7 separate regions of the Homo sapiens genome follow, and all the other regions are linked to region 4. Evidence: promoter capture Hi-C in 16 types of primary human blood cells and fetal thymus (Javierre and others, 2016). All regions are on one chromosome and are shown on one strand. Each heading gives the region's core, a stretch centred on a gene start or on the middle of the fragment in contact. The rest is flanking DNA. Distances are from core to core; before and after follow the strand shown. Region 1 overlaps ADAT2 (adenosine deaminase tRNA specific 2). Region 2 has its middle 270 kb from the start of HIVEP2. Region 3 overlaps ADAT2 (adenosine deaminase tRNA specific 2). Region 4 holds the start of AIG1 (androgen induced 1). Region 5 has its middle 250 kb from the start of HIVEP2. Region 6 overlaps LOC153910 (a long non-coding RNA gene). Region 7 has its middle 290 kb from the start of HIVEP2.

Evidence for each region. The method cuts DNA at HindIII sites, captures the fragments that hold promoters and counts their contacts. A CHiCAGO score of 5 or more calls a contact.
Region 1: a contact is called between a fragment that was not itself captured here and the fragment with the promoter of AIG1 in region 4, in 4 of 17 cell types (M0 macrophages, endothelial precursors, naive B cells and 1 more). The highest score is 6.9, in M0 macrophages.
Region 2: a fragment that was not itself captured here is called in contact with the fragment with the promoter of AIG1 in region 4 in 2 of 17 cell types (total B cells and naive B cells); the score reaches 9.8 in total B cells.
Region 3: a fragment that was not itself captured here is called in contact with the fragment with the promoter of AIG1 in region 4 in 1 of 17 cell types (M1 macrophages); the score reaches 5.3 in M1 macrophages.
Region 5: a contact is called between a fragment that was not itself captured here and the fragment with the promoter of AIG1 in region 4, in 14 of 17 cell types (total B cells, naive B cells, M1 macrophages and 11 more). The highest score is 12.1, in total B cells.
Region 6: a fragment that was not itself captured here is called in contact with the fragment with the promoter of AIG1 in region 4 in 1 of 17 cell types (total B cells); the score reaches 5.7 in total B cells.
Region 7: a fragment that was not itself captured here is called in contact with the fragment with the promoter of AIG1 in region 4 in 1 of 17 cell types (total B cells); the score reaches 5.2 in total B cells.

The regions. Positions count from the first base shown.
Region 1 is chr6:143,421,090-143,424,934 of GRCh38, forward strand. ADAT2 (adenosine deaminase tRNA specific 2) reads right to left here. Exons shown (of 6, transcript NM_182503.3): 6 at 1,743-3,845. Among named protein-coding and RNA genes, the nearest start is that of ADAT2, 28 kb to the right of the region's middle. The HindIII fragment of the contact is 1,676 bases long and covers 1,566-3,241 here.
Region 2 is chr6:142,670,981-142,674,755 of GRCh38, forward strand. No RefSeq gene overlaps it. Among named protein-coding and RNA genes, the nearest start is that of HIVEP2, 270 kb to the right of the region's middle. RefSeq lists enhancers at 798-1,997, 942-1,181. The HindIII fragment of the contact is 234 bases long and covers 2,105-2,338 here.
Region 3 is chr6:143,439,913-143,444,021 of GRCh38, forward strand. The region is part of intron 1 of ADAT2 (adenosine deaminase tRNA specific 2); the gene reads right to left. Among named protein-coding and RNA genes, the nearest start is that of ADAT2, 8.7 kb to the right of the region's middle. The HindIII fragment of the contact is 1,537 bases long and covers 1,587-3,123 here.
Region 4 is chr6:143,058,636-143,062,587 of GRCh38, forward strand. AIG1 (androgen induced 1) reads left to right here and starts at 2,254. Exons shown (of 6, transcript NM_016108.4): 1 at 2,254-2,431. The coding sequence starts at 2,291. RefSeq lists enhancers at 1,250-2,188, 2,014-2,143, 2,744-2,793 and silencers at 2,144-2,233, 2,484-2,553. The HindIII fragment of the contact is 5,617 bases long and covers 611-3,952 here.
Region 5 is chr6:142,688,848-142,692,759 of GRCh38, forward strand. No RefSeq gene overlaps it. Among named protein-coding and RNA genes, the nearest start is that of HIVEP2, 250 kb to the right of the region's middle. The HindIII fragment of the contact is 3,484 bases long and covers 1-3,409 here.
Region 6 is chr6:142,620,357-142,624,240 of GRCh38, forward strand. All of the region lies in intron 1 of LOC153910 (a long non-coding RNA gene), which reads right to left. Among named protein-coding and RNA genes, the nearest start is that of ADGRG6, 320 kb to the left of the region's middle. The HindIII fragment of the contact is 1,497 bases long and covers 619-2,115 here.
Region 7 is chr6:142,654,072-142,657,623 of GRCh38, forward strand. No RefSeq gene overlaps it. Among named protein-coding and RNA genes, the nearest start is that of HIVEP2, 290 kb to the right of the region's middle. The HindIII fragment of the contact is 1,038 bases long and covers 1,647-2,684 here.

The sequences.
Region 1 (3,845 bases), core at 1,154-3,653, 360 kb after region 4:
TCCCAGTTATGGGTACAGGCAGCAGGCTCATATCTGCATATTCTCAGCCAACACCATCTGGGAATTGAGTTTGTTGTGCTGACTACAAGCCTAGGACTCTTCCAGACCATCAGTTCCAGCCTTTAACCCTTCCCCTTCTCCAAAACAAGAAAGCATAGCAGAATGTTAGATGAGAGAGTATAGAGGCTTGATTCTACTAAAAGGTATGTTTTTAAAAATAATTAATTAAAAGGTTGGGCGGGGTGGCTCATGCCTATAATCCCAGCACTTTGGGAGGCTGAGGCGGGTGGACCACGAGGTCAGGAGATCGAAACCATCCTGGTGAACACTGAAACCCCATCTCTACTAAAAACACACAAAAAATTAGCCAGGCGTGGTGGCGGGTGCCTGTAGTCTCAGCTACTCGGGAGGCTGAGGCAGGAGAATGGCGTGAACCCGGGAGGCGGAGCTTGCAGTGAGCCGAGATCGCGCCACTGCACTCCAGCCTGGGTGACAGAGCGAGACTCTGTCTCAAAAAAATTAATTTTTTCTTTTGAGACGTTGCCTTGCTGTGTCACCCAGGCTGGAGCGCAGAGGTACTCATTGCAACCTCTGTTTCCTGGGTCAAGCAATCCTCCCACCTCAGCCTCCCAAGTAGCTGGGACTACAGGAGCGCTCTACCACCCTGGTTAATTTTTTGTATTTTTTGTAAAGACAAGGTCCTCACCATGTTGCTTTGGTTGGTCTCGAACTCAGGAGCTCAAGCAATCCACCTGCCTCGGCCTCCCAAAGTGCTGGGATTACAGGTGTGAGCCACCGCTCCCAGCTATGTTTTTAATTTAACAATAATTCATAAATGTTGGCACTTTAAGATAAAAAAATGAATTGAAACACTTCAGAGTTGCAGCACCATGCTGAGAACTGCTGCACTGAACTCTAAAGCTGCCTAAGTCACCCGGTGTCAAGTCACACAAGTCAACTGTAACTCCCTGACTAGCTGTCTGCCTGGCAGGCATTCTCTTTATAGAGAATGGACCAACACCCATGACTGTATATAGTTATAATTAAGAGCACAGACTCTGGGGCCAGCCTGCCTGAATTCAGATCCTAGCTTCACATTGTTTGCTCTTCATTGGAGCTGTTCACAAAAATTCCAATTCTCTTCTCCCTGATGTAGTTAATGGATTATATTATCTGCTGCCTTGAAGTTGGGCATGGCCATGTGACTTGCTTTAATTCTTTTGAGAGCAAAAGTGATGTGTCACTTCTGGGCAAAAGCCAGGAAGCCCTCCTTACTCAAAGTGTGGCCCATGGTCCAGCACTATGGGCATCACCTAGAAGGTTGATAGAAACATGGCATCTCAGGCCCTCCAGGACCTCCTGAATCAGAATGTGAATTTAATAAGCTCCCCAGGAGATGCCTATGCACGTTTAAGTTTGAGAAGCCCTGCCCTAAGGTATGAAGCATTATTCACCATGTTCTCTTCTCTGGCCACAGCAGCTGATGTCCCCGGTGGTGAAGTTTCCTTTAGCCTAGGCTCCTGGCCTGACCTGAGATGGACAAGAAGCAAGGCATGAGAAAAATAAGCTTTGGTTCTAAGCCACTAAAACTTGAAGGCTGTTACATTGGTTTAACTAGCTCCTTCTGAGTGATGTGATCACTTAGCACTCTGTGACCTTGGGCAAGTTACATAATCTCCCTGTGCCTCAGCTTACTTGATGTAAAACAGAGACAGTAACAGAAAATAATATTTTAAACATGATGATCATAAATAAAATGTATTATTTATTCTAAACCCAAATAAAATGATACATTATCTTTTCTCCTTGCCACTCTCTTAAAATGTATACAAGGAAATAAAACATTCTAAGCCAGAAAACATATTTTGGTATCTTAGATTTTTCCTTTACATTTATAGACCAACTTTTCAAAAGGAAAAAACAAAACCATGGTACTGAAGCAATTCACCATGAGCTGTACAATGAGCCACATCATTCGGTTCCAATCACAGAATTTGAACAAGCAGCTTCCAATCTCAGCCTTTTACCTACTCTAGACCAGGGGCAGCTAACATTTTCTCGAAGGGCCAGACGCTAAATATTTTAGGCCTTTGTGAGTCGCATGGTTTGTCACCACTGCTCAACTCTGCCATTGTAGCACACGAGCAGCCACAGACAACACAGAAACAAATGGGCATGGCTGTCATCCAATGTAACTTTATTTATGGACACTGAAATTTGATTGCCATATAAGGTTCATGGGTCACTAAATATTATCCTTCTTTTGATTTTTTTTCAATCACTCAGAATTGTAAGACCCATTTTTAAGTCATGAGTGGTACCGAAACCGGCAGCGGGCTGGATATGGCCCATGGGCCATACTTTGTGGACTCCTGCTCTAGATTCTCAAGTTCATGCTTCAACATGTTAAAGAAAAATTTATTTTGACACTTGTTAAGGTAAGGAAGACTTAATTCAGGACTACAGTGATAGGTTTTAAAACTATCGCAGGTTTTAAAACTATCCCAACAAGAGGAAGAGATCAGGCTCAGCTCTGAATACAACCAGAACATGTGGGGGTTTATAACTAATGGGCAGAGTGAGGGGGTCAGTGATTAGGAAATTACTAAGAGGAGATATCAAGAGTAGAGTTCTTGCAAAATGAACTTAACAGGCTTCTCGTTGAAGGGAGGCCAAGGACTTACACATCAAAAGTAGGGGATGAGAAATTTCATAGATATTGGGGATGTGGGATTCTCTCTAAACTAGCTTAGCAGGATTCTTGCTAAAGCTGGGCTGTATAGGCCCATCAAGAATGGGGGCCAAGGTGGAGGCCTGGTTAAAAAGAGGACTTAGGGCCTGACTGAAGTTTGGTCAAGGAGAGAGCCTTTGTCAAACTACACCATGAAGCCTCCTTAATAGTCATGGATATGTGGTGTTCAACCCAATATCCACTTAGAAATCAGGTGATAAATAGTCACGAGCCTGTTTTCATTAGCTCAACTTGAAGAAAATGTAAGATCCTAAAGATGTCAAACTTTCAGCAGAACTCACCAGTCTAATCCATAAAAATCACGTCGCCCATCGCTCCTTTCCTCACTACACAAAATTAGCAATTTACAAAGGAAATAGTTGGCAGTTGTCTTCATAGATGAAGTCAATGTAGTCTTATTCCTTTGCCAAAAGGCAGAGAAACCAATTCCTGGTGTCTGGTTTCCCTGGGGCTATAAGGCCAGTTCACGTAGGACCACTGGGAAAGACAAGCTTTGGCATCACCACAGATTTTTAACAAGGCGCTATACTACTTTTAAAAAAGATTTAAGTAATTTTTTCAAGAGCTTTGGCTTTTGCTATTTTTACTGACATTTTGAAAGTAGCAGTGCTTACAACATTTTAAGTCTAGATGTCTCTATGGAAACCCAAGATAACTCATATTTTATGACCAAATGACAACCTACCTAGAGTGTTTATCCCATTGGATCACCATAGGTCATCTGCAGTATCAGAAACATCTTAGGTCTATTTTCCAAAACCCTATCTTATCAGGCATAATGAAATTTATATAATTATTACTTTTGCTGAGGAGGAAATTAGGAAGGAAAGAATTTATTTCTCAGGCTTAATTTTGATGCTTATTAAGATATCACTATTTAAAACATTCTTATTAGAAAAATTTTTTTTATCAATTTTGGCAGACAGTAAAAGAGGAAGAATGCAATCAAATAATTTAATAGTTGCTTTGAAATTTATGTCATTAATTTTCCTCCTCTCCTTTCCATCAGTGTCAAATACATTTTCTGTTTAAAATGTAACAGCTCCTCTTCCCACAGACTGCTTATTCATTGCAACAGAGAAAAAAGGTAACT
Region 2 (3,775 bases), core at 972-3,471, 390 kb before region 4:
ATAAGCACAGTGGGGAGACATGTCCTTTCCACTTTCATATGGACTCAATGCTGACCTTAATGTTTAAATATCTGTTCATCCTAAGTTTGTCTTTCTACATTGGCAGCTTTTAGGTATATGACTAATATGATTTGGCTTTGTCCCCACCCAAATCTCACCTCGAATTGTAATAATCCCCATGTGTCAAGGGTGGGGCTAGGTGGAGATAATTGAATCACGGGGGCAGTTTCTCCCATGCTGTTCTAGTGGTGGTGAATAAGTTTCATGAGATCTTATGGTTTTATAAATGGGAGTTCCACTGCGCAAGCTCTCTTGCCCGCCACCACGTAAAAAGTGCCTTTGCTCTTCCTTAGTCTCCTCTGCCACGATTGTGAGACCTCTCCAGTCACATGGGACTGTGAGCCCATTAAACCTCTTTCCTTGATAAATTACCCAGTTTGGGGTATGTCTTTATTAGTAGCATGAGAACAGACTAATATGACAATCTTGAGTGAGTTTTTAAACTGTTCTGTTCCTCAGCGTTTTTTCTTTTTTTTAATCTCTTAAATGGAAGTAATAATCATACTTATTTGAAAGGGTTGCTTGATGGATTAAATGAGTGAGTTCACACAAACCACCTAGGATAGTATCTGGTCCTGAGTAAGCTGTCAATACTTGTACCTTATTAATCTTCATCAATTCATCTATTGACCACAGCTTGACCTCTTACTCTATTTGGCACTGCTCCATTTCACATACCCCAGCCGTGGTGCTCAACCTGCACCATCTCAGTTTCAAGACTCTGCCCATATTCCTCTCTCAAGCTGAGTGGCAGAGTCTGTTAATTGTTCCTGGTATCTTTTCTCTGCCTCTTTCCCCTGAGTTTTAGCTGATCCCCAGTCACTCAGCCAAAGACTACCTTTCCCAGGCTTCCTTGCAGCTAAGTGTGGCCCTGAAACTAGGTTCTGGCCAATGGGAGCTGAGATAAGTTGAAGTGTACAATTTTCAGATCATGCTATTATAGAAGAAGAAGTATGCCCTCCATTCTGCTGGCAGAAGTGTGAGCATACCACAAGATGGAAGCCACGTGTGAAGGCAACAGAGCAAGAAGACAGGATGAGCCTGGGTCCCTTGAGACTTCCCAGGGCAGAGCCACCCACATTTAAACAAGCATGGCAGGTTAGCTTTACTTTCTCTTATGGATTATCCTTTTCTACTTGGCACCTTTGCTCTTTATGGTCTATTATAACCTATATCAGAGACAAGGATGTCTAAAAAGAGGATCAATTCCAGGTCTCTAAGAACTTATGGTTTTCAAAGATCTTAAAGTGAAAAAAATGACAAGTTGATTACTCCACATTCTACTGTAAATAAATTACAGAGGCTGGCTATTTCCCCCCTTCCTTGCTTGTCTTTGGGTTTGAGAAAAACTGATTTATCATCACTTACCTCTTTTTCTTGCTAATCGGTACAATTTTTAAATATTGAGACACCTTGGCTAAATCATAAATGTTTTGTTAACATGCATTCATTGTAAAAACTTGCCTTGACTCATCTATGATTGTTCCAAAGATTTATATGACCAATTCATGTCTGTTTCTCCACAGAATGATCTTCTCTCGCTTCTGAATATCTGTCAGCACACATCTGTGCCTGTGTGTACAAAAACTTCACCTCATGAGAGCCCCAGATTTGACAGAATCAAGTTTGCCTCATTTTTCAAACAGTGTTAACTCAGTTTAAAAATACTTTTCTCATTATGTTATTGCAAGGGTCTTTTATTCCATCTCATGCTTTCGTCTATTTTGGATCTAACATTTATTTAATTAGAAATCTATTATTGGGGAGGGGGCACAAATAAAATTTAGCTACCACTAACCACCCCCTGTCAAATGGTGGTACATTAAAGAAAAGAAGGAAGGTATTACTTTCTTCAGATAACATAAGACAAACATTTAAAATTCGGTCCACTTGGAAAATGCTTTCTCCACATCTTCTTTTATGTGGAGGGTGATTTCCTTTTTAGTGGGTTACACAATGCAAATGAGGCACAGTTCATTTATATCCAAGTCCAGGGAAATGAATTTATAGGCACTCCAGAGGAAAAGTTCCATGGAGATATTCAAGCTTTCTTACTTTCAGACTATCGGAAGCTCTGCAATATATGTCTTTCCCTAGATATCTTAAGGGCACCCAATAAAGCCAGTTTTGCCTGAGAAAAGCCATTTACACCCCTGCTTTCCATGGAAGACTAATTGGAATCGCTGTTACCATTTTAAATCTCTTCAACGGGTTAGGGTGTTGTTATCAGTATAACTCAATCAACCAACATATACTTAATGATTTCCAGTTAGAAGAAAGCTTCTTCCTTCTACAAAACATACAAGGAAAAACACTATTTCTGCCCTGAAGTAGTTGCCAGTCTAATTGCAAAAACTTGTGAGGGTCTCTGGCTTTTCAAGACCCATTAAAAAGACAAAGTCATGTCCTGCAGTGCCCCATAAATGGGTCTACACTCTCCTTTGGCAGTTCCAGTCCATCTTGTGTGTCATCGTATTGCCTAAGTTTGAATAAGCCTTTTAATCTTCAGTAAATTAAATTCTTAGCAGGGGCTTATAAATCCTGTTGTTCTCAATGCCTAACCCAGTGCCTGATCCACAGAATACATTCATGAATAAATAAAGGAGTGGATGAGTTGGAAGCAGAAAGTAAAACAGTGGTTACCAGAGATTGAGTAGGGGAGGCAGGAGGGGAGGATGGAGAAAATTTGGTCAACAAGTACATAGTTAAAACTAGATAGAAGAAATAAGTTCTGATGTTCCATTGCACAGTGGCGTGACCACAGTTAACAGTAAGGTATTGTATATTACCAAATAGCTAGAAGAGAGGCGTTTAAATGTCCTCACCACAAAGAAATGATAAGTGCATGAGGTGATGGTTATACCCGATTTGATCATTATACAATATATATGTATCAAACATCAAATTGTATCCCATAATATGTATAATTATAACATGTCAATTTTAAAAAAAAGCAAATGAGTAAATTTTTAATACAGTCAATGTAGGTTACAAAACTATTTAATTCATCTTCAGGTCTACACCCAGGACATTCTGGCACAATAATTTCTATTTATGCCCAAGAGGCACTAAAGATCCCTTGATTCCATTTATCTATTCAAATTTTCAACAAATATTTATTGAGAGTTCAGTATCTGTGCAATATTTTCTTAGGTGCTGGGAATACGATGGGAGTAAGCCAAGAATTTGCCCTAAGGAAGCTTATATTTTAGGGAGAAAATGACGAGGAAAGAATCTCTCTATAGCAAAAAAGCAGCCAGCCAGGGAAGGAATACTACACCACATCAGCTTGGGCTTACAGGTAAATAAATGGGACTTGTCTATTAAGATTTATTAAATTCAACAACAAAGTGGCTTTGATCTCACAAGTGAATAAACCAAAACGAATTACTCCTTGAAAAGTAGAAATGAAAAATTATTACATTTCTCCTTCCTAATTGGTACATCCATAAGGGAAACATTTAAAAAAAAAAAAAAAACTAAGATAAAAATCAAAAATGTGCCCCAGGAAGAACTATCTGAACTATATTTGCATGAAATTGTATTCTGTGCTTAAAGCCAATGTTTCCCTAATTTATGTGTTATCCCTCCTTAATTCCTCCTGTCTCCTTTAACAGTCTTTTACAAATGCATTGACTTCTTCACTAAAATTCTCATGAGGGCAAAAACACAGACAAGATGCCCAATTGTAAAAACTTACTTACGTCTTATATAA
Region 3 (4,109 bases), core at 1,105-3,604, 380 kb after region 4:
CAAACCAATTATTATATTCTCAAAGTTCCCTTTATCACAGGCCATTCGTTTTTCTTCTTGTCCCATGATAGCAGCTCTGGGCCCTAGGAAAATTAACTCTACCTTCAGGCGGAGAGCTTAAGCAGGCAGGTTATGCCTCAGTATAACCTGATACTGCCTCTGAGAGTCAGAATAAGGGAAGAGTACAACCCTTGGACTAGTGTACATTCATTCCCATCTCAATGCAGTCAAAAGAATATAACTGCTGTACAGCTGTTTCCAGAAAGGCAAGGTATTCCTTACTGTGGCAGCCCTGAAGAGACTTTGGAAGACTTGATTCTCACTTAAGTGCAGGTACTTACACACATCATAGGGCATATAAAGTGCAAAGTTGAAGGCATTGTTAAAACAGTGTCTTCTGTCTCCTGCACCAGTCTCTTACTCCCAGTTCTACTTTATTTAACTAGTGACAACTTCCTATTATAAGGCATACAGGATTTCCTCAGTTATTCCCACCATGTTCAACGGACACTTATTCTTCATTTGGCCATTAGAGGAAAAAGGAGACGCCCACAGCAGGAGCAAACTGGGCCTCTCTTTTCTCCATCTGGTTGGTGGGTCAGAGATGGGGCATGGAGAGATGTGAGAAGACAGTATCTGATGCAGTAAGACTGCATTCAGGACTATTTTATGAACTATCCACAGGCCGGTTGTGTCCCAGTTCTGTGACAGTGGTTAAAGCATGTCCAGTTTATGCAAGTTCAAAAGGCTTGAAGAGTCCCGAGGTTTGGTTAATATAGACAAATGCACCATAGGCTACTATAGAGAAGAAAGCCAGGAAGAAGACGGACAGTTAAGGAGAATGGAAATGCTAACTACCAGTGTAGCTATGGCAATTATTATACTAAGAATTTTATTTAAGGTAAGTGTAGAATTACACAGAGATCAAGGTACACAGAAGAGACAAATCATTTATTCATGCAAAAAATATTTGTTGAGGATCTTGAGATGGAGAGATTATCCCAAATTCAGGTGGGTCCTGAAGGCACCCACAGAAGGCAAGAGGCGAAGTGATAACGGAAGGAGAGAGAGAGAGATTTGAAAATGCTGCACTGCTGGCTTTGAAGATGGAGGGATGGGTCATAAATGTCACTTCAGTACCTGGAAAAGGCAGGCTTCCAGAAGTTATTCGGCCCTGCCAAAACTTTGATTGGGGCTCACTAAAATTTCAGACTTCTGGCCTCCAGAACTATAAGAGAATAAACTTGTGTTGTTTTTAGCCACCATGTTTGTGATAATTTGTTACAGCAGCCATAGGAAACTAATACATGCAGCAAAGAGGAAGAAAAACATGCTAAAATAGGAAAAAACTTACAAACCACATCTCTGGCAACACTCTAGTATCTAGACTATATAAAGGACTCTTAAAACTCCACAATAAAATAATAATCCCATTAGAAAAAGACTGTTTTCATCTATTTGTGCTGCGATAAAGGAATACCTGAGGCTGGGTAGTTTATAAAGAGAAGAAGTTGATTTGGCTCACAGTTCTCCAGACTGTACAAGAAGTATGGTATCAGCATCTGCTTCCAGTGAGGGCCTCAGGAAGCTTCCACTCATGGCAGAAGGCAATGGGAGCAGGCATCACATGGTAAGAGAAGAAGAAAGAAAGGAGGGGATGGTATATTCTCATGATAATAATATAGTGAGAACTTGCCACTATAAAAATGATTTATGAGGTATCCTCCCCATGATCCAAACTTCCCACCAGGCCCTGCTACTAATACCAGGGATTCAATTTCAACATGAAATTTGGAGGCGACAAATATCCAAACTATATGAGAAGGCAAAAGACAGACATTTCACCAAAGAAGATAACACACATAGCAAATAAGTACACGAAAAGATGTTTTCACATCATTAGCCGGTAGAGAAATGTCAACTAAAACCACAATGAGGTATCACTACACACCCATCAGCATGACTAAAGTGAAACGTAAAAACAACATCAAATGCTGGCAAGGCTGTGGAGAAGTGATATTACTCATATACTGCTGGTCGGAATATAAAATGGTACAGCCACACTGGAAAATAGTTTGGCAGTTTCTTAAAAAGCTAAACATGCATTTAACTTATGACCCAACAATTCCACTCTTGGGCATTTATCCCAGAGAAATGAAAACCTATGCTCACACAATGTATGTCTGTGTGCACAAATATTCATAACAGCTTTATTTGTAATAGCCAAAAACTGGAAACAACTCAAATGCCCTTCAGTGGGTGAACTGCTAAACAAACTATGGTACACCTGTACCATGGGACACAATGCAGCAATAACAAGGAATGAACTATCGATAATCTCAACAACTTGGATGGATCTCATGGGAATCATGCTGAATGGAGAAAGCCAAGCCAAATGGTTACAGATTCATGTACATAGCATTTTTGAATTATAAAATTATAGACAGAGAACAGATTAGAAGCTGCAGCTATAAAGAGGTAGCACAAGGGAGCCATGTGGTAGTGAAACAGTTCCAGTGGTGGTTATACAAAGCTAAACATGACAAAATTGCATAGGCACGCATACACACACACACACACACACACACACACACACACGTACAAATAAAACTGATGACATCTTAATAAGCTCTGCAGTTTTCCCAATGCATTTTTCCTGGTTTTGATACTGAACTATAGCTATGCAAGATGTTACCACTGAAGGACACTAGACACTTGGGTCCTCCCAGTATATTATTATTGTAATTTCTTGTGAACTTATAATTATTTCAAAATGAAAGTTAAAAAATAAGTACAGGTAAACAAAAAGGATTTTGCAATGGGAATTAAAAAGAGATGTTTAGTGAGTTTAGAGAAATATTTGGTGTTACGGACAATCCCAGAAAAACACTAGGCCAAGAAGGAAGGGTGGTCAAGTGTGTCTAATTCAGCAAGGTGGTGGCAATTTAGGTGGAATGGTGGAGATGAAAACCAGTAGCTTGAACAGTGACTTATCTAAGAGGTTAAATTTTTAACTCCAGCTATACTTTCCCCAACAAACCTCTTAAGAGAGGTAATGTTTTGTCTGCATCTCGAGTATTCTGGTTCTGAGAGCTTGAACATAAGAGCTTACAATTTATTGAAAGCTTACTTTGATCCAGGACTAATTTAAGCATTTTATAAGTATTAATTCATTTCATTTACAAGCCTATAATGATCTTCCCCATTTTACAGATGAGGAAACTGAGGCACAGGGAGATTTTTTTTTATACATGTATATATCTCTCACTAGCGCATGTGAGAGAGCTGGGACTAGGGCATAGACAACCTGGCTCCACTTATTCATTTGTTCAACAAACATTTGTGGAGCACCTACCAAGGGCCAGATTCCAGGGCTCTCTGCCACTGTTCTGCCTCTAACTTCTACTTTAGTAACAACAGACACTTCACCGATCAGCTGCTTTATCAGGGTTTGAGTTTAGAGTGAATCAAGGGACCAAATGAGAGAGAACAGTTGGCAAGAGAGTGAGACATGGAAATTTTAAGGATAAAAAAAATGGCAAGAGGAGTTCAAGGCTGTAGTGAGCTATGATCATGCCACTACACTCCAGCCTGGGTAACACAGCAAGACCCCATCTCTAAAAAAAGTAAAAAATAGGCTGAGCACAGTGGCCCATGCCTGTAATCCCAGCACTTTAGGAGGCCAAGGCAGGTGGATCATCTTAGGTCAGGAGTTTGAGACCAGCCTGGCCAATATTGTGAAACCCCATCTCTACTAAAAATACAAAAATTAGCTGGGCATGGTGATGGGTGCCTGTAATCCTAGCTACTTGGGAGGCTGAGGCATGAGAATCGCTTGAACCCAGGAGGCGGAGGTTGCAGTGAGCCCAGATTGTGCCATTGCATTCCAGCCTGGGCGACAAAGTGAAACTCTGTCTTAAAAAAAAAAAAAGTTAAAAAAAAAAACAAAAACGGCAAGAGAATAAACAAATGGAGGCCATGTGATCAGGATTTTCTGTAAAAATATCTCCTGAAGAGCTCTACATTGGCTATGTGGGCCATCTCAAACCTGCAGAAGAGAATGCAGGGCCGAGTGGAAAGGACGTGAGTGGGATGGGAGATGAGATTCC
Region 4 (3,952 bases), core at 1,004-3,503:
TTGGGAGGCTGAGGCAGGAGAATAGTTGAACCCAGGAGGCAGAGGTTGCAGTGAGCTGAGATCATGCCACTGCACTTCCGCCTGGGTGACAGAGCTAGACTCTGTCTCACAAAAAAACAAAAAGAAAAACAAAACAAAAAACCTGACCATTAAAAATGGCTTTATGAAAATATTATTTCATTTTGTAACAATGGGGTTGGGGAGTCTTAATAATTGTCTAACATGTAAAGTAGGAAGGGTATATCAAACTTTGCAAATATCACATTAACTCATAAAACTTTATTAAGGCTCTATTGAGAGGTGAGGCCAGCTGGACCTCCTGAGACAAGTGGGGACTTGGGGAACTTGCCTGTCTTACAAGAGGAGTGTAAAATGCACCAATCAGCGCTCTGTAAAAAGCACCAATCAGCACTCTGTAAAACACACTAATCAGCACTCTGTAAAACGCACCAATCAGCAAGATTTTAAAAGTAGCCAATCGCAGGGAGGACTGAAAAAAGGGCACTCTCATAGGACAGAAACAGAACACTGGAGAGGACAATAAGGGAATAAAAGCTGGCCACCCCAGCCAGCAGCAGCAACCCGCTCCAGTCCCCTTTCATGCTGTGGAAGCTTTGTCCTTTCACTCTTCACAATAAACCTTGCTATCGCTCACTCTGGGTCTGTGCCATCTTTAAGAGCTGTAACACTTACCACCAAGGTCTGCCGCTTCATTCTTGAAGTCACTGAGACCACTAATCTACCGGCAGGAACCAATTCCAGACACATTATTAAGGTAGGTAGATCTTCAATAGATCTACTCTTTTTTATTTTTATTTTTTTGGCAGTTTATAACCATGTACCAAGGATGCACAATTAAAAAAATAAAGCCAACTTTTACATTAAGATTTAACCAAAAATCATCAATAATACATCGTTTTAATGCTAGTAGAATCTTCTTCTGACATCAGTTCTATTAGCATAATTATAATGCCAATTAAAAAAATCTAGTGGGTCTCTTCATTTTAGTTTAGAGCTTGATTGGAAACATTCAGGAAAACATCCATGGCTTGCTTGCTACTTTCTCTTTACCTCTAGCACTATGCTTCTCCCCACCAGCCCTCCCTCCACATCCTCTGACTCAGAGACTATTTGAAGAGGACACCTGTTTTAAATGGATCCACAGGAAATACCTATGTTGCCTTTTCATAATCCGAACCTGCAACTGGTTGGCTGAAATGAAAATGTTGCCCACAGACTGATGCAACTTCAGTGTGACAACATTTACTGGAAGGCAGGAGGGACTCCAGTTTATATTTATTTTCCTTCCATTAAGCCCTGGTAGTGTAGTGTAAGAAAAAAGTAAGGGCAAAACCAGTTTAACAACCAGATGATTAGTATTAAATTACACGCAGGGGTTTTACATCCAAAATTGGAATTTTTTAAAGCTGAATGCAATCTTGTGGCAGAAAGTTATTTGAAAATCCTTTCTTTATAGCTTTTTATCTATAAACCTCTTGTCCAAAGTTCATATTCTAGCTGATGTTATATACTGATATGACATTATTCAATCTGTCATGGAAAAGTGCTGCGTAGCCTACCCATTGAAAGCAGAATTGAGAGAGTTTCCTAGTGATTGACAGTCGTTTGTCAACACTGAAAACCTTATTGCCCCAAAATACTGAAAGTCACTCGCGGCTGCCTGTGCTCGGGTTTACACCCCACGTTCACACCCCCACCGGATCCCTCCGCACGGGGCACCAGCTCTCGGCCAACTGCAACTACCCCAGGAAGCGTCACCGCGATTCCGGGGCGGGAACATTTGTGGACACTGGGGTCCACTCCTTCAGTCTAGGTTCCCCGCCCCCTCGCCCGGCCCGGCGCCCACTAGCCACAGGGCCCGCTTCCCCCTGGAGATCAGCGCGCACTTCCCGAGCCCTCGTAGCACTCAGAGGTCGCATCCACACCTGGGATGCCTAGGGGGCGCCTCCTGGCCGGGTGTCCCGGGACCCTGCGAACGCAGGAGCAGAATGACGAAGGTGACGAAAGAGATGACGACACGCCGCCTGCCAGGCCGCGGCCGGCAGTGGAGAGCGTCCGCAAACCGCGCCCGGCCAGTACAGGTCACCCGGGCGCTCGCGGCCGCGCCAGTCCCCGGGGGCGCGCGCCCCGCCCCCGCCCCCGCCCCCGCCCCGCCCCGCCCCGCGCCCGCGCCCGCGCCCGGGTTCCCACGGCGCCCGCCCCCGCGCGCCCGGCGCCTCCCTCACGCCCGCCCTCCTTGCCGCCCAGCCGGTCCAGGCCTCTGGCGAACATGGCGCTTGTCCCCTGCCAGGTGCTGCGGATGGCAATCCTGCTGTCTTACTGCTCTATCCTGTGTAACTACAAGGCCATCGAAATGCCCTCACACCAGACCTACGGAGGGAGCTGGAAATTCCTGACGTTCATTGATCTGGTAAGGCCGTCCCCTCCCCCTGCTCGCCCCGCACCCCGTGCCTGTGTGTGCGTGTGTGTGTGTGTGTGTGTGTGTGTGTGTGGATGCGCGAGCACCTGCGCACGTGCGCGCCTCCAGCATCCACCCGTGTCCTCGCCTCTTCCCCAGTGATTGCGTGTGAAGGCCTGGCTGCCCCCGCAGCGGCACCTTCTGAACCACTCACCGTTACCTGGTAGCTGGGTACCCTTACCTGGCAACTGGGGGACAAATGGAGGTGGGGCGCAGCCAGGTGGTGGGCTCTTTGGAGGGGGACACCGAACTGCTTCTAAGAGGTGACACGGGAAGAATCTTCAACAAAAGCATCGGACCTGATCCTGAATGGCCTGAGACCCATTCGCCCTCAAGGTGCTTTTCAGAGCACCCACCGTGGGATGAACTTGTTGCAACTGAAGGAAACTGGGTATTGTCTAGTGATTTGGAACTTCACCTGAAAGAACCAAATCCTTCTCATAAGGGAGAGAAAGCACCTAATAAAGTTGTCTTCTTTGCATCTGTTTTTTTCCCCCATTGTCAATAATTTACTTTCAACCTTTACCCCGTACATATTAGGAGACAGAGATGTTCAAAGTGCATTTCCAAGGTGACTGTACACACTTCTCTGTCTTCCCATGTACAAATTTACAGTAGTTTGCATAAGCAGCTCCTCTGTTGGCACAATATGATAATCTTGACAGGTGCAGGTTATTATTAGTATATCATTTTGAAAGTTTTTCTATTTCTGGCACTAAAAGGCCCTCTTCAACCTCCCTGGAGAACAGAACATGGGCATAAGGCCCAATAATGAACTCATGGATGGACCTAGGAATTTCAGGGTAAAGGTGACTAAGACACACGCTAAAAGATTATTAGGAAGAGGCTTAAAACAAAAGCAATGAAGTTCTAAAGCACTCAGAGAAATTGTAGAACCAATTCCTGGGACTCCCTGAACTGTTTATCCAAGACTATACAGTTGGTTGGCTACACCAGCAAGATTATAATCTCTTGTTGACCCTCCATTCTGATGAAGAGAACATGATACCTGTTTTAAAAATTTCCAAAGGCTTAGGATGCCTCAAAGAAATGCAGAGAGGCTTTTGGTTTAAAAATAACACCTTATATTTGCATTATATTAGATACTTTCAGAGTGGAATTTCAATTCTGTTGCCCAGCAGTCTCCAAACTGTGCACATACCCTTAGGCCCACAAGACTTCACAGGGTATAGAATGTTGCAAGGGTTTTAATTTTCAGATCCTCATCTTCCAACTCTGCTTGAAACTAATTTCCCTCTGAACATGCGTGATGCCTGCCAGTTCTCCTTTCATTCTCCCCATTCATCCAAGTGAGGAGCCCGTGACAAGACTCTGAGGTGTGCTTTTCTGTCTGTTCCTTTTAGCTTCCAGAAGATAGATGGTTGTCACCAGGGCTATCTTTATATTTGATTGAACAACAATGTCGGAGTTGCCTTGACAGAAAGTCTTATTGGGTTGATTGGCTTGTCAATG
Region 5 (3,912 bases), core at 418-2,917, 370 kb before region 4:
ACTGGTACGACTACATCAAACATAAATGAGTCTGCACTTCAAAGGAAATAATCAGCAAAACAATTGTTTCTTTTGCAACCTACAAAATTAAGGAAAATATTCACTAATTATATATCTGATAAGGGGTTAATCTCCAAAATATATATAAGTAACTCCTACAACTCAATAGCAAAAAATCAAATAATCCAATTTTTTTAATTGGGCAAAGGACTTGAATGGACATTTCTCAAAAGAAGACATACAAATAGCCAACAGGTATATGAAAAAAGGCTCAACATCACTAATCACTAAGGGAAATGCAAATCAAAACCACAGCAAAATAGCACTTCACATATGTTAGATTGGCTATTACCATAAAAACAAAAGACAACAAGTTTTGGTGAGGATGTGGAGAAAAGGGAACCCTTGCACATAGGTGATGGAATGTAAGTAAGTTGGTACAGTCATGATGTAAAACACTGTGGAGGTTCTAAAAAATTTTTTTGAATAAAACTACCATATGATCCAGCAATCCCACTTCTGAGTTTATATCCAAAAAAAAAATTGAAATCAGGATCTCAAAGAGATAGTGCACAACCATGTTCACTATAGCATTATTCACAATGACCAAGACATGGAAACAACCTACATGTCCATCAGCAGATAAATGGATAAAAAATGTGGTCTATACACTCAATGGCATATTACTCGGCCATGTGGAGATCCTTCCACATGAAACAGCATAGATGAACCTGGAGGACATTATGCTAAGTGAAATAAGCCAGTTACAGAAGGAAAAAATCCTGCATGATTTTTCTTACATGAGGTAGCTAAAATAGTCAAACTTAGGGAAGCAAAGACTTGGACAGTGGTGCCAGGGACTGGGTAGAGGCAGAAATTGGGAGCTGTTGTTCAATGGGTATGAAGTTTCAATGATGCAAGATGCATGAGTTTTAGAGATCTGCTTTACAACACTATGCCTATAGTTAACTGCACTGTGCACTTAAAAATTTGTTAAAGAGTCTGGGTGCGGTGGCTCAGGCCTGTAATCCCAGCACTTCGGGAGGCCCAGGCGGGTGGATCACCTGAGGTCAGGAGTTAGAGACCTGCCTGGCCAACATAGTGAAACCCCATCTCTACTACAAATACAAAAAATTAGCCAAGCGTGGTGGCAGGTGCCTGTAATCCCAGCTACTTGGGAGGCTGAGGCAGGAGAATTGCTTGAACTGGGAGGCAGAGGTCGCAGTGAGCCGAGACTGCGCCACCGCACTCCAGCCTGGGTGACAGAGTGAGACTGCATCTCAAAAAAAAAAAAATTGTTAAAGAGAGTATATCACATTAAATATTCCTACAAAAATAAATAAATAAATGAATATTCTTTTTAAAAAATGTTTATTTTATTTTAAGTTCCAGATACATGTGCAGGACCTGCAGGTTTGTTACATAGGTAAACATGTGCCATGGTGGTTTGCTTCACCTATCAACCCAGCACCTACGTATGAAGCCCTGCATGCATTAGCTATTTATCCTGGTGCTCTCCCTCACCTCCCTTGCCACCAACAGGCCCCAGTGTGTGTTGTTCCCCTCCCTGTGCCCATGCGTTGTCATTGTTCAGCTCCCACATATAAGTGAGAACATGCAGCATTTGTTTGGTTTTCTGTTCTTGTGTTAGTTTGCTGAGGATAATGGATTCCAGCTCCATCCATGTCCCTGCAAAAAACATGACCTTGTTTCTTCCTATGGCTGCATAATAGTCCATGGTGTGTATGTACAATAAATATATATTCTTGCCTGATACAAACACACAGGTACACAAAGGTGCACAAGGAAACTTTAGGAGGTGAATATGTTTCTTGCCTTGATTTTAGTGATGGTTTCACAGGTGTATGCCTATATTAAAATTAATCAAACTGTACATTAAATATGCCAATTTACTTCAATAAGGGAGTTAAAAAATTAAAAATGAGACTGGTGGGAAGACCAGAAAGCAGTCTTCACATATTTAAAGGGTTGTCCTGCAAAAGAGGGATCAGACTTTTTATTGCATCTGGCTCTGGAGGACAGAGAAAGGGGCAAGGCATATAGATTATAAAGAGGTAAGGTTTAGCTTGATAAAAGGAAAAATCCTAATAATTATAGCTATTTAAAAACGAAATATGCTTATTGAACTTTTAAAGGTGATATTATGGACAAATACTTAATGAAAAAGGATAAAAGATGGTTCTAAAACATGAGTAGTACAATTCTTTTAGAATAAAGGTGTGCATACCCATGCACGCATGTGCACGCATGCACATGCACACACACACACACACATACGCACACCTGGGCACATACATCAGAATGTTCATGGTGTTTATCTCTGAGTGATAGTATTACAGATATTTTTAATTTTTATTTTGTACATTTTGGTTTTGTTTTCTAAAATTATTACAGTGAATGCAAATTATTTTTCTTATGACAGGAAAACACTGTACAGCAAAAATGGTTGTGGGACCTAGGGAGTTCTATTTTGTTGGAGGTGTTTGAGCAGAACCTGTAGTTGCTGTTGATAACTCCCAGGATGTTGAAAAGGAGACTGTTATAGACAGGAAGATGGCTATTACCTCTTTTAACCTCTATGGTGCTTCAGATTCTGAGAATCTATTGCACAAAATAATAATTATAACTAATAATTATAACCACTATAACTATTAACATATAACCTGTAGTTATTAATAGTTATGATTAATAAAGTCATAGAATCTCAGATTTGTCAGGGAACTCAGAAGTCAACTTTCCCAGCCAATGTAAGACAGTATGAAAAATCCTTGGCCACACATGCGGATAAAGGATTGCCCATGGCTGGGAATGTATATCCTTTCCTGCTGCTCACTGGTCTACACTAGCAGGTAAGAAACACATTTGTCTCTAAACACCCAGCCCAGTGGTACATGAAATGATCTTCATCTATTTGTTTCTCAAGCATGAAATGATAGCCTACACACAATCTTTTCATATTGTAGTCACTCTGTGATCTTTCAAAATGAAAATAAAGAGGTCTTGTCACTAGGTGTACAATCTATTTTCCTTGACTTGAAATCTCATCTTTTATTTCTTCAAAGCACATAAGGACTTTATCTTTAATTCTATCTTGTATTCTGTTATCAAATCCATTTGTTGTTGTTCTATGTCTGCTCAGGATGTCTGAACATTTTTACATAGAGTAACTTTAAGTGTGAACCTAAGTCGAATTCAAAACAAGACATCTAACTCTAAGAAAAGCCTTAGGTAAAACTTTGAATATATTTATCTTGAATGCTACAAGATGTCCAAATTATCCCTAGACATCCTCTCTTCACTTTCTTCAGACACCTAACCCTTCCTCCCTCTGCCACCTCAAATTCAAAATTCACACTTAGGAGAAAGATTTGTAATTTTTTCAAATCAAAGCTTATAGTAGAAGCCAATCAACTAATTCTGTAATTGTCTCTTAAACACCCTAAACTATGCAGGACCACTTCATTGCAAAAACAAAATAAACTCTTGAAATCACAAGGTAATATATAGCAATTAACAATTCAACATTACAAACAGTAAGTGCTATTGGTAAATGCTACTTAAGTTCAGGAAATAAAAGGTAATTATCTTTGAGCTGACAAATTTACCGCACTACCAATAAATGAAGGAATTACTGTATAGTGTGCTAGCAGGGATCCTGGGAGATCTGGTGGAGATAGAAGTTCTAGCTGAACTTCAGAACCCTCCAATACAAACAGGCTTATCTGAGGGGACAGGTCAGTCCTGCACACTATTGCAAGTGTTATCAAAGTGTGGTCCACGGACCAGCATCCTCTACACCACTTGGGAGCTTGTTAAAGGTACAGAATCGAGGGCCCCGTCCAGAACTAGTAAATAAAAAATCTAGATTTTTAACAAGCTCCCAGGATGATT
Region 6 (3,884 bases), core at 117-2,616, 440 kb before region 4:
CCTCGACCTCCCAAAGTGCTAGGATTACAGGCATGAGCCACCACACCCGGCCTATCCTCCTTTTTATATTAAAAAATCTTCACTTTAACCCTTTCAAATTAAAGTCTGTGCCATTGTATAATAGTTATTGAATAATAACTATTTTTCATTGGTTTCTATAATGTCTGAGCAGGAGATTAGAAAAGTGAATGAGACTCTGCCTTAACCTTCAGGACACAGGCATGGGAGGCCATTCTGAGCAATAGTTAAGAGCACACGTTCTCACATGAGATGCTGAGGGTGTGAACCTGCACTCTGCCAGTTTTCAGTTATTTAATGTTAGACAAATTAACCTCATCATTCCTGGTATTTATATGTAAAATGGAGATAATTGATAGATTTATAGCATTAGTTTGAAGATTAAATGATATTACACATGTAAATATTGTTCAGTTTAATGTCTAGTACAAGACAAAGTACTACATAAGTTTTAGCCTTTATTTTTAGCCCTGGCTCTCAAGACATAACCAGCTTAGGCTATGAGGATGTCAGTCATGGTGAGTAGAAGTTTCTCAGGGATTTACAAACTTACAAAATTTATAAGAGATAGGACTGTGGTTTAATTTTAACACTAAGTCAAGCTTGTTTAAATTCCAGAAAGGGACATCAAAGTACCAAATCAGGAATAAGTTGAATAATTTTGTCTCTTTTGGCCTAACATAATGATTTATCTCTTGTCCCTTTTCTTTGCTCTTCTGTCTTCACTCTCTCCCTGGTAATCTCATTTAATATCAAGAGTCAAGCCATCATCTTGAGAGAATTGAGTCTCAAATATCTTTCCTGAACTCCAGACCCATACTTGCAACATCCTGAAAAATATTTTTGCCTGGATGTTCCCCGAACCTAGGAAACTGTATTTTGCCTTCTTCATCTTGGTGTCTAATCTTCACTTATAAGAAGTATAAATATATTTGTGTTTAAATGGATATAGTGAAGAGAATATGCAAATACATACATGTAAATGAATGAGTAAATGAATAAAACTTGTGAACAGTTTTTCAATTTAGACTAAGATTAGCATATAAAAAGCCTTCAAACTATTTCCCATTCATGAAGTCAAACTAAGTTGAAAAATAACATGCTGACTTCATTCTTCAATTTGGAATAGATGTCTAAAAGTGGGGTTTGGTGAAGAACCTGTCCTGCCACCCAAAGTCAGCAAAAAGGCTTAGGCAGCAAAATAGTGAGATAGAAAGGAGATTGTCAACCTCAGTCACAGGTAGATCACAGACACACACTTGCATAATCATTGCTCTAAGTCCAAGCAATTTCTAAGGGTAGGAAAAAGCTAGACGGTCTATATCAAGTAAACTTGGCTGTGCACTGCAAGCATCAACCTTCTTTATGGAAAGCATGTGAGTTGTGAGTACAAGGGATGGGGATAATGGTAGACCCCACTGACAGTGGACCAGGAACTAAACATATAAATACATCCCCACCCTCTACTCATGGTCTAGACTCCAGTGAAAAAAGATAAGGAAGTAAAAAGTTGGAGAAAGTATGTAAGAAACAGAGCTCCCTCTCATTAGTTTTATTTATTTAACAAAAAACTCCTGAATGCCCTCCAAGTTTCAGGGACTGTTACATGGTCTGTCAGATAACCTAATCAAACCATGTGATAGGAGTGGTATTTGGTGTCCACACAAGTCTACTGTACTCTGGGGAGAAGTTGCTGCAACATTTCCAAGTCCTTCTGACTCCTTTTGAATACACACACATACACACATACACATGTGTCTGAAACTACGGTGTGGTGGGATGAAAGGGGCATGACCTTCTGTTCAGGCGACCAATGTCTTGGAGTAGAAGGACACAACTTTCTCTAATCTTTGTCACCAGGAGAACTTCAGTGTCAGCCTCATGAGGCCTCTACAGGCTGGCCTCCACTGAAGAATTCAATAGTAAGCCAGAGAGACAGATGGAGACTGGAAGATTTTGATTCCTTATCCTGGCCAAGTTTAATATTTCCAAGAACTTGTATCCCCTCAAAAGATATATTAAAGTCCTAATTCCTGTACCGGAGAATGTGACCTTATTTGGAGATAAGGTTTTTACAGAGGTAAACAAGTTAAAACAAGCTTATTAGGTTCGACCCTAACCTTATATGACAGGTTATATAAAAAGGGGATGTTTCTTATAAAAAGGGGATGTTGGGGGCACAGACACGTGTTCAGGGAGAATGCTATGTGAGGATGAAGGCAGAGATCAGGGTAAGGCTTGTTCGTAACAAAGAATGCCAAAGATTGCCAGCAAACCACTAAAAGTAAGGGATAGGCATGGGACAGATTCCCCACCCAGCCCTCAGAAGGAACCAACCCTACTGACACCTTGGCCTCAGACTTCCAGCCTCCAGAACTAAGAGAAAAAATTTCTGTTGTTTAAGACTGTCACTAAGTTTTTGGTATGTGCTTTATTGTGGCAGCCCTAACAAGCTGATACACAAGGCTAATGCTCCAAACTGTTCTGGAAACTAAATTGTATCCAGGTTCATATGCTACCTCATAGGAGATGTGAATGCCTATCAAAATCTTTTCAAATTTATGTTAATAGCATTGAAAGTGAAAAGAAAAAAGAGCAAATATTGTCTCTTCAGAATGATTCTCCCAAAATAATGACAATGTGCTCTTTGAAAAGCTCCTCTCTTTGGAAAAGGCATCCTATATCCTAATCATTTGTTTCCAGCTGAGACAAAGAACTGCTCTTTTATTTCAACAGCAGATAACCACGTTTCAACAATCAAGCCAAAACAGCAGTAATTAACATAAACTGTCTTATGAGTTGCTTGTACACTACCTCATTTTGTCTCATGAGCAGGGCTATGAGATAAATTAATTAAAAACCAGAACAGACGAAAGATGGGCAAGTTTGGGTGTATTAATACTTACTATGAAATTATGATTATGACAACTTAGATAAAGTGAAAACTATTTAAACAAGGCTTCATTGTTTCCTTGTTGTAGGCTAATAATCATCACCACTCAATTCTGGCATCAAACCAGAGCTCAGGGAGGCATTGTGACTTGCAAGTGAAGAGAATGTATTCTAACCTGGGTTCAGCAGGTATAGCTACGTAGTTTGCACGGCTGGTGCAAAATGAAAATGCAGGGTTCATTGGTAAAAAGCAGGAAAAGAGTCATTGAAGGCACTAAAATAATATAAAGTTTCCTTCCTTCTTCATCATGGGGTTTTAAATTATATTTAATGTTGTTTAATGTGGTTCTAAGTAAATTAAAATTAAAATTTTTAATTGGCTGGGTTCAGTAGCTCACACCTGTAATCCTAGCACTTTGGGAGCTCAGGAGTTCAAGATCAGCCTGGGCAACATGGTGAAACCCCGTCTCTACTAAAAATACAAAAATTTTAGCCAGGCATGGCGGTGTGTGCCTGTAGTCCCAGCTACTCGGGAGGCTGAGGCAGGAGAACTGCTTGAACCTGGGAGGCAGAGGTTGCAGTGAGCCAAGATCATGCCACTGCACTAGAGTCTGGGTGACAGAATGAGACTCCATCTCCAAAAAACAAAACAAAACAGAAGTTAAATTATGAGTGAATTTTACCATTTAGCTTTATATTGTGCTATGAGTTTTAAATGCCAATGTAAGAGTATTTGATGTGTATGCAGAATCACTAAAATCAAACACCTCATATTTCATAGTTTTTACATGCGTATTTATTTTGTTCTTATCAGAACAGTGGAAACACTGCACAGAACAAACTTGAATGTGTTTATTTCAATTCTTGATGCACACACATTCCACAAACTCTCCCTACCTTTGGGGTTACTGATGGCTAAGGAAAGATTGAAAGGAAAAAGAACTATTGGTTGCCCTGTCTTTCCCTTTCCTTCC
Region 7 (3,552 bases), core at 916-3,415, 400 kb before region 4:
CCAGGGCATTTGTCATTTGTGCACTGAAACATTCTGACAGCCACTTGGCACTTGCATTTTGTCATGTTGTAATGGAGTATATTGCTATTGCATTCAATATATTCAATATTTTTTTCATTCCAATTACATGCAGTGAATCAAACCCTTGCTACAGTGAAATTGGTTTGAAGCCCTCCCCAGAGCCAAGATCCACCAGAGAACCCCGATCTGATGACTGCCGGCGGGTCTGTGCAGTGCCTTCCTCTCGATTTGAAGAGCAGCTAATTTAATTTGTTCTCTTATTTGAGAGTGAACCAGATCATTTGCATTGTAAATAAAACCATTTCTTGTCTTTATTTCCATCATTTTTGGTTGCTTTTGGCGGCTTAACTTGGATAACTTAATCACGGGCCATATGAAAGAAAGCAGAAAAAGATTTTAAATAAGTTTAGGAGTGAGTGCAAAGCAAATCCGTGGCAGTAACAGGTGACTAAAGCATCTCTGCTATCAGACTTTGTAAGCATCATATGGCACTTGAGTTATCATCTCTGCTGCTAGAGGTCAGAGGAAAATTGGAATAGTGGCCTCTCGAAGTAGGTCCTCTATGCTAAATTCAGGCTTGGAACTACATGAAGTGCAGCATTTCAGGGAGACCCTGGTGTTCTACCTGTGGTGGAAGAGCACGACCTCTGCAGCCAGGCCCTGCAGCCAGTGCTGCCTCTGCTCCCCTCAGCCCAGAACCCAAGTGAAGGCAGAGCAGCGCTGTGTAGGATTGCTTCTCTGCAATGGCCATTATGGGATGGAGAATGAAAGGAACAGTTTTAATAAGTATTTTCCTTTTCGCTGTAATTTCACAATTTTGCGATGGCATCCATTCCCCAGAATAGTGAAAAGAGCATGAACTTAAAATAGCAACAAAGATCATTTTTTAAGTCTAAATTACCTGTGTTGTACTTAATCATTATTGATGTGATATTCTCAAGAATTACAATTCTTTCTAAAGATGATGGTATTTTAAGATGGGCTTTCCCCACACACAGGAAGATCTCTGAGGTACCAAGAAGTTTTTTGTGAAGTTGTTCATTCCTTACTTGCTTCATGTACAGTCTTGGTAATAGCCTTGAGCAGCAGGTGGTGGATTGCACGTCCTATTCAGAGCAGTGTGTAGTTTCCTATTCTGCTTATGGACAACATGAAAAACCTCAAGGAAGTTGTGCTTGGGATATGCACTGTCCATCCCAGCCTCAGCTGACTCATTGAAAAGAGGCTGATGGCAATCTCCCTAGAGACTCTCTTTCCTGGGAAGGACAGGGAACTCCAGCACAGCTAGCTCTTGATGGGCCTCGGGGCCATGCCTTCTGAGGCTACCAGGGGACTATTGGGCCTAAGTTGGCATCTACTGCCAAACTAAATCCCCCATGCCTCACCTACTTTGCCCCTTTTGTTCTGATCCTCTCTCCTGTTTCAACGTTTTATCCTCATATTGCTCTATGTTGCCTCTTTCCTCTGCCAAGCCCGCAACAAGTTTCTTCTCCTCTTAACCTTTCCTCAGTGCTCTCTGGAACTCCCTATCCATGGTTAGCCAATTCTACTTCCATGATTATTCCTTTCACCTCCTAACCTTGACCAAACATTGTCACTTCCCTGGGGATTTCACAGCCCCAGAAAGCTTCTCCAGGTGAGAGGCTGCATAGTCCTATGCCCCCTGAGTCAGGTGTTTGGGAAGCTGGATCAGGGAGCTCCTCATTTCCAGCTGCTTCTTCCAGACTCATGTGAATTCCCTCGTGCACAGTTTGAGTGAGCTCATTTGCGGCTCACACAAAGCATTCATATACCACTGATCACCCCTGCTACTCAACGCCTAAGACTTCAGGCCTGCTGGGATCACGTGGCATGCTGATGCCTTTGTAAATCTGATGAATATTGCATAGATTTGGTGTTCTTTTCTTTAGAAATTAAATGTTTAATGCTTATCTATGGCCACCTTATTTTTCCGATCCCTTCACACACATTCTGCTCCCTGACTACACCTCATTTTTGCCCTCTCTATGTGTTGACCCATTACTTTGCTCCAACCTCTGCTTCCCACAAGCCATCTAGTCTATTTCATTCCAAGTTGTTGAGTCTCTGTTCAAGTTCAGTCTTTTTCATGAAATTTCTTCAGGTGTACCACCCCAAGGTGGTTTCTCATCACGTGTATTCGCATTTATTATCTCTGCCTAGTGTTCAAAAATAAAGCGTATACTAGTTGTGATAGCCTCTGAGTCTGTGAAACTTTTGATTCATTTCCCTACCTTTTCAAATCTCCTGTCACTACTGTTTGGTGCCACACAAAAGCCCCTTCTTGTGTAAGCCTGTCCTCCTCCTCATCATCATGGGGTGCAAGAAGAGTGAGACCTGCGTGGGGCAGGCAGACACCTTGCACCATTAAAGGGCAGATTTATCATCACTGTCACATATACGATGATTGAACACAAAAAACTGACATTAGAACTCATTATAAATAGTAATTTAATCACTTCCTTTACATACCTACAAATGTTTTTCATACTTGCAGAATGCAATGCTCTTATAGTGACAAACCCTGCCTAAATCATAGAATTTTAGAGATGAAGGGACATTCAGTTCCTACACTACTTATTTTACCAAAAAAAAATTTTAAATGTATGTTACTTTATCAGTCAGAATAACTTTAAACCAGCCAAAGCTTGCTTTTCACTAATGGTATATATCGAGTATAGGTCAGTGGGAGGATATTAGTTCATCACAGTCTCTCAGGAACACAGGTAGATAGAGTCTATATCATAACACACGCTTCTACTATTGCTGAGGCAGAGAAATCAGAGCTCTGGAAGATCTTTCCCTAGTGACAAAGTTCTGGCCCACGAATGACATCTTTTCACAAAAGCCGGAACCATTGTTCAGGAACAATCCATGACCCACCCAACCACAAAGGAGCCAGGAAGCTCAGTCATCCATGTACGCTGTACTGAAGTTGATGGGCAGCTCTAGTAAACAGCATAACTATAACTACTCTTCAGCTACTTGTGTTATATTTATGCCATTTCATTATAATATGATAGAAGGTAGTAAAATGAGTATGCATTTTGGAGCCAGATAGCCTAGGTTCAGAACCCTGTTCTGCCACTTGTTAGCTGAGCCTGTGTGGCCTTGGGCAACATACTTAATCCCTCTGAGCCTCAATTTTATTAACTTCTAAATGGGTATTTAACAAGGTTACTGGGAGGATTCAATGAGATGGAATGTATAAAAAGTAAAAAACCTAAAAAAAAGTCTAGCAAGTAATACATACTCGATACACATTAGTTTTTGTTTTCCCTCCATCTCCCCACCCACATTAATGTTTTGTTCACCTTCATTTTGTCCTTCCTTACTTCCCTTGTGAGTATGAATTTGTTCTTGCCTTGGGTTTGAAAGATTGAATCCCATTTCCCTCACCAACAGATAAGCACATTCACTTCAATGCTATAACAATACTGTGCTTTCATTAATATCTCCACCATATTTTCTATCTCCAGGGCTGTATTGTTAGAGAGTTTTCTCTATTTGATT